3 separate regions of the Homo sapiens genome follow, and regions 1 and 2 are each linked to region 3. Evidence: promoter capture Hi-C in 16 types of primary human blood cells and fetal thymus (Javierre and others, 2016). All regions are on one chromosome and are shown on one strand. The core of a region is centred on a gene start or on the middle of the fragment in contact, and the rest is flanking DNA. Distances in the headings are between cores, read along the strand shown. Region 1 overlaps CECR2 (CECR2 histone acetyl-lysine reader). Region 2 overlaps SLC25A18 (solute carrier family 25 member 18). Region 3 holds the start of CECR3 (cat eye syndrome chromosome region, candidate 3).

What was found. The method cuts DNA at HindIII sites, captures the fragments that hold promoters and counts their contacts. A CHiCAGO score of 5 or more calls a contact.
Region 1: a fragment that was not itself captured here is called in contact with the fragment with the promoter of CECR3 in region 3 in 12 of 17 cell types (endothelial precursors, M2 macrophages, M0 macrophages and 9 more); the score reaches 9.7 in endothelial precursors.
Region 2: a fragment that was not itself captured here is called in contact with the fragment with the promoter of CECR3 in region 3 in 1 of 17 cell types (erythroblasts); the score reaches 5.5 in erythroblasts.

What each region holds. Positions count from the first base shown.
Region 1 is chr22:17,527,587-17,531,164 of GRCh38, forward strand. All of the region lies in intron 9 of CECR2 (CECR2 histone acetyl-lysine reader), which reads left to right. Among named protein-coding and RNA genes, the nearest start is that of SLC25A18, 34 kb to the right of the region's middle. The HindIII fragment of the contact is 2,175 bases long and covers 208-2,382 here.
Region 2 is chr22:17,579,306-17,582,872 of GRCh38, forward strand. SLC25A18 (solute carrier family 25 member 18) reads left to right here. Exons shown (of 11, transcript NM_031481.3): 3 at 440-659; 4 at 1,732-1,854; 5 at 2,053-2,108; 6 at 3,258-3,348. The coding sequence starts at 640. It overlaps LOC101929372 (a long non-coding RNA gene), which reads right to left. Exons shown (of 4, transcript NR_171783.1): 3 at 2,029-2,243; 4 at 850-1,026. Among named protein-coding and RNA genes, the nearest start is that of SLC25A18, 18 kb to the left of the region's middle. The HindIII fragment of the contact is 361 bases long and covers 1,071-1,431 here.
Region 3 is chr22:17,264,785-17,268,435 of GRCh38, forward strand. CECR3 (cat eye syndrome chromosome region, candidate 3) reads right to left here and starts at 1,949. Exons shown (of 3, transcript NR_038398.2): 1 at 1,739-1,949. RefSeq lists an enhancer at 1-398. The HindIII fragment of the contact is 21,393 bases long and covers 1-3,651 here.

The DNA of each region.
Region 1 (3,578 bases), core at 45-2,544, 260 kb after region 3:
CAAAACCCTGCCTCTACTAAAAATACTAAAATTAGCTAGGCATGGTGGCACACGCCTGTAATCCCAGCTACTCAGGAGGCTGAGGCAGGAGAATTGCTTGAACCTGGGAGACAGAGGTGGCAGTGAGCAGAGATCAAGCCAAGACTTCATTCCAGCCTGGGCAATACAGCAAGATTCTGTCTCAAAAAAAAAAAAAAAAAGCAAACAAGCTTATGAAAAAAGTGCTCAGTATCATTGATCATCAGAGAAATGGAAATCCAAAACTATTATGAGATATCATCTTACACAGTTAAAATGGTTTATACCCAAAGGACAGGCAATAACAAATACTGGTGAGAATGAGAAGAGGAAATCCTCATATACTGTTGGTAGGAACATAAATTAGTCCCCCGCTATGGAGAACAGCTTAGATGTTCCTTAGAAAACTAAAAAGAGAGCTACCATAAAATCTATTAATCCCACTGCTGGGTATACACCCAAAAGAAAGGAAATCAATATATTGAAGAGATAACTACACTCCCATATTTTTTGCAGCTCTGTTCACAATAGCCAAGATTTGGAAGCAACCTAAGTGTCCGTCAGCAAATGAATGGATAAAGAAAATGTGGTACTGATACACAAGGGAGTACTATTCAGCCATAAAAACAGAAAGATGCAGTCGTTTGCAACAACATGGATAGAACTGGAGGTTATTATTTTAAATGAAATAAGACAGGCACAGAAAGACAAACATTGGATATTCTCACTTACTTGTGGGATCTAAAAATCAAAATAATTGAACCCGTGGAGATAGAGGGGAAAAGGATGGTTACCAGAGGCTGGGAACGATAGTGGAGGGTTGGGGAGAGGTAGGATGGTTAATGGGTACAAAAAAAATAGTTATTATGAATGAATATGATCTGGCATTTGATAGCACAGCAGAGAAGTATGGCTTTTTTTTTCTTTTCTTTTCTTTTTTGTTATTTTTGAGACAGAGTCTCACTCTTTTGCCCAGGCTAGAGTGCAGTGGCATGATCTGGTCTCACTGCAACCTCCACTTCTCAGGTTCAAGTGATTACCATGCCTCAGCCTCCCAAGTAGCTGTGATTACAGGTGTACACTACCACACCCGGCTAATTTTTGTATTTTTAGTAGAGATGGGGTTTTGCCGTGTTGGCCAGGCTGGTCTTGAACTCCTGGCCTCAAGTGATCCATCTGCCTCAGCCTCCCAAAGTGCTGGGAATACAAGCGTGAGCACACACCCAGCCAGAAGTACTATTTTCATTCCAGTGGTGAGAAGGTGGAGAGTAGACAAATATTGTGGGATAATAGTGGTGAGTGATCTGAAGTAAAATTAGGCAGGTTTACAGGTAAAGAGTGACATGGCTGGGCGTGGTGGCTCCATCTGTGGTCCCAGCTACTTGGGAGGCTGTGGCAGGAGGACCCCTTGAGCGCAGGAGATCGAGGCTGCAGTGAGCGCTGATTTCCCCTGCTGAACACAGCCTGGGTGATAGAGCAAAACCCTGTCTCAGACAAAAAAGAAAGCCCTCTCTGAAGATTTGACATTTAAATAAAGTGAATGAGGTTGACCCGTGAGTGCCTGAAGCGGAAGGCGCAGTGCAGACAAGAGCAGAGGCACGGAGGCAGGGATATGCAGCAGGAAGTCCAGGGCGAGGCTGCAGCGGAGGGGAGCAAAGCAAGCACAGGAAGGCTGGCTGGAAGTCCCGGCGCGGCTGGAGCGGAGCAGAGCAGAGCAAGCACAGGAAGGCTGGCTGGGCATGAATTGAGTCCTACCAGGTAGCCCAGGGTCGCATTGGGATGGGCTGTGCAGACCTTGTTAGAAGGGTTAAATGGGCTGGGCGCCGTGGCTCACGGTTGTAATCCCAGCACTTTGGAAGGCCGAAGTGGGCGAATCACGAGGTCAGGAGATCAAGACCATCGTGACTAACACGGTGAAACCCCGTCTCTACTAAAAATACAAAAAATTAGCCAGGCGTGGTGGCACATGCCTGTAGTCCCAGCTACTCGGGAGGCTGAGGCGGGAGAATGGCGTGAACCCGGGAGGCGGAGCTTCCAGTGAGCCGAGATCGCCCCACCGCACTCCAGCCTGGGCGACAGAGCAAGATTCCGTCTCAAAAAAAAAAAAAAAGGAAGGATTAAATGAAAACAGGACAGTCTCTGACACACATTTAAAGTCACAAATGATAGTTTTCTTTGTTTGAGACAAAGTCTCGCTCTGCCTCCCATGATAGTTCTTATGGAAGGAATTTTTGTAAGCCATAAGATACTTACAATAACCTTTTCCAGACTTTTTAGTAGCTTCCAACTACAAAAAAAGAGAAATAATCAATTATGTACTAATCAGACACTTTTAAAAATTACAACAGTTTATTCAGAGAAACAAGCTTTGTGTGACATTCTAAGCGGATTTTATTCTGCAGGTCCTTTTAACATAATGAGTAATATTTGTGTTGGGAATGACTGAGAAGAAATTTCATAATGATGTGAAGATCTACCTGTAAATAGTTCCTCTGTCGTATGCTGGTATTTATATTCTAGCATCTCAACAGTGCTGATGGTCACTCATCTTGGAGTTCCCTGAATTTTTTTTTTTTTTCAAAACTCCTGTAATGTTACATTACCCATACTTTTGTTGTTGCTGCTGTTGTTGTTGTTTTGAGACGGAGTGTCGCTCTGTCGCCCAGGCTGGAGTGCAGTGGTGCCGCGCCCGGCACATGACTGCATACTTTCAAGGAGAGGACTCAGAGCTTTTATTTATTTAAAGAAACTTGAAAGGAGGAAAGTGGATTAAGAAAAAAAAAATAAGGCCAGGCGCGGTGGCTCACGCCTGTAATCCCAGCACTTTGGGAGGCTGAGGCAGGCAGATCACGAGGTCAGGAGATTGACACCATCCTGGCCAACATGGTGAAACCCCGTCTCTACTAAAAATACAAAAAAAAAATTAGCCGGGCATGGTGGCGTGCACCTGTAGTCCCAACTACTCGGGAGGCTGAGACAGGAGAATTGCTTGAATTCGGGAGGCAGAGGCTGCAGTGAGCTGAGATCATGCCACTGCATTCCAGCCTGGGCAACAGAGCGAGACTCTGTCCCCCTCAAAAAAGAAAAAAAAAAACAACAGAAGGCAAAAAGTGAAACAGCCAAGTGTCCACCAGTGGATAAAAGGAGAACCTGAATGCAGTATACACTTAGAATGGGGTGTTATTCAGCCTTAAGAGGGAAGGAAATTCTGAAACATGCTACAACATGGATGAACCTTGAAGGTATTACACGAAGTGATATCAGCAGGACACACGTGGACAAATGTTTTGTACTAGAGGCTGAGGTGAGAGGGAAATGGGGAGTCAGTGTTTAACGTTACAGACTGGAGTGATGAAAAGATACTAGAAATGGATACCGGTGATGGCGCCACAACATTACTTACACACTTAATGCTACTGAATTGTATGCTCATTTGGGTGATATGTCTGGGTAACTAGAATGAGATGAAGCCGGCCATGACGAAAGAAGTAACTTGTAGTTAATCAGTTGGGGTCCAGCCTTGAAAACCAAAACTACACTAGCTACTTCAGCAGGGAAAA
Region 2 (3,567 bases), core at 1-2,500, 310 kb after region 3:
CGAACTCCTGAGCTCAGGCAATCCGCCCGCCTCGGCCTCCCAAAGTGTTAGGATTACAGGCATGAGCCACCACGCCCGGCCATCTTAAGTATTTTATTGTAGTCCTTGGACACCAAGAGAGGGATTCCTAGTTCATAGCAACTCCTCTTAAAATCCTTTCCATCCCTTCTGCTTCCTCCAGTGCCACTCCCATGCCTCTGTCCAAAATGCCCCAGACATCCTTTCCTCCAGCCTCAGCAGGCTGCTGTATCCTTCTCTCTCATTCCCCTTCCTTCTTATCTGATCCCCAGAGTCCAAAAGTTCGAGGATTCTGATTTGAATCCCAAAGTCCAAAAGGTTTAGGAAGGGAAAAAAGTGGAGCAAGCGGGCCGCATGAATCCACTAGTGACGTGCGTCCTCGCCCATCTGTGAGGTGAGTGTTTCTCTGACTACTTTGCAGGGGAGGAAGCCGCAGCCCAAGGAGGTCGTCACTTGCCGGGAAGGTGGCTCGGGCCAGGCTGCACTCAAAACCCGTGCTCTGTCCACACTGCTACGGGGCCAGAGCCAAGGAAGCTTCCACTTCTTCCCCCAGACAGCCCCAACAGCGGCTACCCCAAGGAGCCAGCAGCCTTGTGTCCTGGGATCCCCAGCCCCTGCAGAATGACCCACCAGGATCTGAGGTGAGCTCGGCTGGGGCAGCCTGAGGCCCTGGGCCCTGGGCCTGGCGGAGAGTCGCTGTGGTGATAGCACATCCAGGTTTCTGAAGAACAAGCTGAGTCCTAGGGAAGAGCAAGACCCCTGTCCCCCATATAACATATACACTACATCTACTGTGGCAAATACGTACACACAAGCATCTGTGCACATATATGTTATTGTTCAACATAGTTTAATTGTTTGGGTTCATCTTCTCTAACTACAAAATTAAGTTTACAGTTCTCTTTATCGTCCCAAGTTTCTTCCTTTGTGAAAGGCCCACTATCATCTACTCTTACCACTTCCAGGTAAATCCATCTCCAAATATTTTGTTCACAGTCTGCCTCCCGCCTGAAAGATAAGAAAAGTTGAGTGGGTTCCAAGGAGTCTGAGAAAGCTTTGTTTTCTATTTCCCGTCTTCCAAAGCTCCTATACCCAGCAGGGTGGGGGGCCATGTTATCTAAACTGTGGCTTTACTTTTGGCTGGAACTAGGTCACCTCAAGGGCTGACCGACTTGAAGCCTTCACTGTGGGAAGTGCCTGCTCTCTTATTATGAACAATAGCTGGCATTCCCCCCCAGGCACGGTTTCCATAGTCCTCAGCAACCCTGGAGTGAGTTCGACGGGAATGCAGGCCCAGAGAGGAGAGGTCACAGTCAGGATGCAAACTCAGTTCTGCCTGACCTTCAGTCCGTTTGTGTGAGAACTGCACACGTGGCTCCAGGCCTGCGGAGGAGCCAGAGGACGGGCCGGGGAAGCTTGGGGCAGAGCGGTGCCCTGGTGGCGGCCCATGGGGGCAGAGCTGGGCTCCTCCCAGAAGCCCCTGCAGGTCCCAGCTCCAGGGACTTCCCGGGTTGCAGCAAGATGCCTCACCCGGGTGAGTGCGGCTGTCCTGTCTGGACCAGACCTGGGCCAGGGAGGCTGAAGAGGGTCTCTGGACACCTGTGGGGCTGGGGTTCCCCACTGTCTGTGCCCCTGCCCATTCCTGGCTGCATCCGCTCCCTAACCTGCCCCTCCCTCTGCCTCTCTCCTCCCCCTGTCCTCCCCCTGTCCTAGCATCACAGCCAAACTCATCAATGGAGGTGTAGCAGGGCTCGTGGGGGTGACCTGCGTGTTCCCCATCGACTTGGCCAAGACTCGCCTGCAGAACCAGCATGGGAAAGCCATGTACAAAGGAATGTAGGTGCTGGCAGGCGAGCGTGGAGGGCAGAGGCGCCCGGGGGAGGGATGGGGCCCCCTTCCCTCCAGTCTCCAGGCAGCGCGCGTGAGCCTGGGGGCTGGGGATCTGATCAGCTGGGATGTGCCCGCGGGAGCAGGGCATGGAGGCGGCTGGGAGGCCCGCTGCACACTTACTCCTACTCTGGCCTCTGCTTCCAGGATCGACTGCCTGATGAAGACGGCTCGGGCGGAGGGCTTCTTCGGCATGTACCGAGGTGGGCTTCTCAGGTCCCCTGGGAGGCTGGGCAGCAGGTGTGAGCGTATGGGACATGGGGAACTGGTGTTCCTTCCGTTGCTGCGGGGATGGGGCCAGGGCTGCCAGGGGGTCCTTCCTGATGAGCCTCTGTGCTCTTGGGTGGAGACAGAGGCAGCTCTGGGTCCTGGTAAGGCTTCCGGAGACCCACAGAGCACACCCCCCGCCACCGCCTCAGTAAGAGCAGGCGAGCCCTCCCTACCTGCCTGCCTCTCTCTGCCTGGCTAGAAGCGAAGAGAGAGAGGCTGAAAGGGACTGAGGGACGGGGCCTGAGCTCCTGGCAAGGAGTTCTGGGTGGCTCCTCCCCAGCTCGGTCCAGCGTTGCTGCGGTCCCTGCGGGGTCCCCAGCCAGGAGGTACCTTGGACAATGGATCCCAAGCTGGAGTTGAGCCGGAGCTCGTATGCTTGTGCCGCCGAGAAGCAAAACACAAACCCTAGACAGCCCCGAGCTAGCAGCCAATGGGACTGGCTTGTGCGGCACAGAGGAGCGGAACCCCAGTCCCTGCGCCTGGCGCCTGTCACTGGAACTGCTGTTTTATCATCAGCGACCCCACCAGCAGCAACAAAAATAAAATGGCTTCCTGATAACCAAACTGAGGAGTCCGTAAGAAAAAAATACGTAAAAAGGGGAGAATGTGGGGCCGGGCGCGGTGGCTCACGCCTGTAATCCCAGCACTTTGGGAGGCCGAGGCGGGCGGATCACGAGGTCAGGAGATCGAGACCATCCTGGCTAACACGGTGAAACCCCGTCTCTACTAAAAAATACAAAAAAAATTTAGCCGGGCGTGGTGGCGGGCGCCTGTAGTCCCAGCTACTAGGGAGGCCGAGGCAGGAGAATGGCGCGAACCCGGGAGGCGGAGCTTTCAGTGCGCCGAGATCGCGCCACTGCACTCCAGCCTGGGCGACAGAGCGAGACTCCATCTAAAAAAAAAGGAGAATGTGGTAGGGAGTGGGAATGGAAAGTTATTTCAGTGAATTAGGCTCAGGAGCCCCACCTGGCCCCAAAAATGCCCTTCACTCAGGGACTGGCCTGGCTAGGGCTGAAGGGCAGACCTGGGGCACTGTTATTTCTGGGATGGCCTTGACTCCCCATCTTGTCCTTCACTTCCAGGGGCTGCAGTGAACCTCACTCTGGTCACTCCAGAGAAGGCCATCAAGCTGGCGGCCAACGACTTTTTCCGGCGGCTGCTCATGGAAGATGGGTATGGCCAGGTGGGGTGGGGTTGGATCCTTCACTGTGTGTTTTTTGGGAGAGATGGCAGGAAGAAGATTTCAAATGTGCCTCAGTATACCTGCCTGCATGCATATAAATATGTGCACACATGGCTGAGGGCTGGTGTGTGTTTGGGCTGCTGGAGAGTGAAGGGAGAGAATGAGCTGGTATACTTTGGAAGTGTGACAGATAATATAGAGAACATATA
Region 3 (3,651 bases), core at 699-3,198:
TGCCAGGCAGCCCAGCCAGAGGTGAGCTGGGTCACAGGGGTGAGCTGCCAGGCCTGCTCACCCCTCTTCTTGGTGTGATCCCCTCAAGTCCAATCCCCAGGGACCTTCCCCAGGAATGCTGAGAGCACCAGCTGTCCCGGCCATGTCAGGCATCTGGCCACCAGGTCTCCTTCCACTCCAGGGGCAACCACCGCCAGAGGGAAAAACGGAAACACCAGGTTATTTGTGATCTGCATACTCACTCCTCGTTTAGAGAGACAAGCAGGAGGCCAGGGGAATAGATGGGACTGTGGGAACAGCCAAGGGCAGAGGGTGAAGGGCGGCGATCAGAAGGAAAGACGGAATGCCCACACATTCCCTGCCGCTCCCGGCTCCAGCCGTGGAGGAAGCGGGGCTCGGAGGACATTGCACCAGACAGGTCTTGTTTAGAAAATTGGAAAAGAACAAATATTGATTACAAGAGTGCAGGAGAATGGGCCCTTCCATCATCAAAAACAGGTATTCAGCCAGGCGAAGTGACTCACGCTTGTAATCCCAGCACTTTGGGAGGCAAAGGCAGGAGGATCGCTTGGGCCCAAGAGTTTGAGACCAGCCTGGGCAGCATGGTGAAACCCAGTCTCTACAAAAAATACCAAAAATTAGCTGGGTGTGGTGACGTGTCTGTGGTCCCAGCCATTCGGGTGGCTGAGGTGGGAGGATTGCTTGGGCCCGGGAGGTCGAACCATGTTCACACCATGGCATTCCAGCCTGGATGACAGAATGAGACCCTGTTTCTAATAATAACAGTAATAATAATAATAAAATACATACTCACTAGCTATGACTCTGCTTTACAGGATAATTGGGGCAAAAATGTTCTTGGGTGAAACTGGGTAACCTAATTTGAAAGGTCTGGGAAACATGGCCCAATTTCAGCCTCGCTCGCCACTCACAGGCCAAGTGGAGGTTGCGGTTCATAACATACTGGACACTAGACATCACTAATGCCTTCATTCTACAAATGGGAAAACCATGGCTGAGAGGTCACCTGATCTCCCAAGTTCACTCAGAGACGTGGGGATGGGCCGAGCTCCAGAGCCTGGGCCTTGCCCTGCTCCACCCCATACAGCACGAAGTTCCCTGGCCAACTAAGGAAGGAGTGCAAGGTGACTGAAGAAAACAAAAACAAACAGAACTGACACAAAAAACAAACAAACAAAACTGAGTGCCAAAGAAGGAGAATTTGGGGGCTGAGGCTGTGGCTGCAGAGTGGGAGTGGGGATAATCAACGCTGGGCTCCTGAGTGTCTCTGGAAGGGCGGGCCCTGGTGTCCAGAGCGCCTGGTGCCCACCTTCCCCTTTCCCCCAGGGCCCCTGTCTGAGAGCTCTTCTACCCACTCCTGGCTGCTGGGGCACCTGATATTTTCCAAAACACAATTTTCACACCCTTAATAGTGGGCTGCGGAGGAGTCAGGATCAGAGCCTCTAGCTCAGATTTCCTTCCCTGAAAGGATACGGTCTTAGAAACTGCATGCTGTGCAGAGTCCTATCATTCAGAAGAAACACAAAACCCAAGCCCTGGGGAGTCACGTGGCCACCACGGATGCCCCGGCCTCGGACTAAGCTAAGGGCATTAGCCCGGGTGGCCTGTAGCTGCTCTGCAGCTCTGATCAGTCCTACAGACACATGGCACCCCCCACCTGTCACCTTTAGGACCCTCCAGTCAGGCCCCCTTAAGATGCAGTGTTCCCCATGCTCACCTTTGAGGCTTACTCTGCTGCTAAGGAAACAGCATGCAACTTCCCAGGGTTATGAGAAATAATTTTCCTAGGAATGTCACCAGCTGCAGACGCCCCTGTCATAAACTGTCCCAGCTCTAAGCCGCCTAGGGCTTTTATCCCCTCCTCTTAGCTACTCATTACCCAGCTTAATTAGGCCAGGAAATGCTGGCGCTGAAGACACTCTCGGCAGGAGGCAGGGCTGGAGGAGAGATTCTCAGCAGCGCCACTTCCTGAGGCTTGATCTGGGGGCTGGGGAAGGCTGTGGAGGAGGTCGGCTGGGGATGGCAGGCTGCGTCCTCCAGTGAACAGCTGCTGGGAACGAAGCAGGGATGCACGCATTTGCTCCCCAGGCCCTCCAGGGAGCTGAGGGTTGCACTTGTTTACGGTAACAGCACCGGATCTGAAGGCCTTGGAAGGCTCTGCCTGCCCCCACCCCAACCCTCCCATCTCAATTAACCAGCTTCACCACCCCACCCCCACTCTTTCCTAGGGAAGAGGTTGAAACCTCAGTTACCACTCACAATATTTCAGCCCCAACCCTGACATAATCACAGTCAAAGACCCAGCCTGAGATGCCTTCCATTTTCAGCCAGCCCCTGACCTTCACCCTGAACCACCTTGGTCATGCACAACCTCCTGGTTCTTCACTAGGTGGAACACAGGAATGGGGTTGCCTGCTATAGAGCTGTATGTGCTTCACCCAGTTTTGGAGCTTTCTGCTCCAGTGGCGTTGGAAGGGGAGTAGCAATGTTGAGGGTTCATAGAATGGGGTTTATATCAGACAGATGGGGGTCTAGACTGTAGCTCTGCCCCAGGTCATTCTGTGACCTTGAATATGCTATTTCATTTTTCTGCACCTAAGTTTCTTTAGCTGCAAAAATGGGGGTGCTAATATCGGCTTCTTGGGAGGTTGAGATGATCTTATATCCTTATAGTAGACACAGGCAAATGTTCAGTAAGAAGTGGCCGGTATCTCCGATGTGGGGCACTAGTTCAGAGGCCTGCAGTTACCAACTTTTCTTTGCTGGGAGGTATGGAAAGGGGAAAACTAGTATTAATGAGATCCCGCTATCTGTGGAAGGTATTCATACTTACACGATTTTCCTTTCATTTCCCAATTATCTGTGGAGGCTTTGAGATTTAAATGAGTAAACTGAGGCTCGGAGAGGGTAGGAGGGTGAGTCATGCCTCATGAGTGGCAGAGCAGATCATACAACAGGGCTACGGCAGATGCCCAGGGCTGCTGAGTCTGGGACTGCTTCGTGGCCTGGAAATGTCAGAATGACACCAGTCTAGGCCAGGCGCAGTGGCTCAGGTCTGTAGTCCCAGGACTTGGGGAGGCCGAGGTGGGCGGATCACTTGAGGTCAGGAGTTCGAAACCAGCCTGGCCAATATGGTGAAACCCGTCTCTACTAAAAATTCAAAAATTAGCCAGTTGTGTTGTTGGGCGCCTATAGTCCCAGTACTCAGGAGCCTGAGGCACAAGAATCGCTTGGACCCGGAAGGCAGAGGCTGCAGTGAGCTGAGATCAAACCATTGCATTCCAGCCTGGGCGTCAGAGCGAGACTTATCTCAAACAAACAAACAAACAAAAGAATCACACCAGCCTAGAGCGAGTAGGATGACTAGAATCTCAGCAGCCACAGCACCAGGTGGATCATCGCCCTGGAGAGGGGAATATGAGGGCTGAGTCACAGTGTCATCCAAAAAGGACTTGTCAGCCTCTGCAGAGGCTGCCTCTCACCTGCGGAACACGTACCCACTGTGCTGTAAGTCCTGGAGCAATTTGCTTCAGCCTTCTCAGGTGTATGGTTTTATGCCTTGGCTTTTCCATTGTGTCCACATTTTCTCAGAAAATGCAAACTTCTTGAGAAGTGACCTCATTTCCCTCA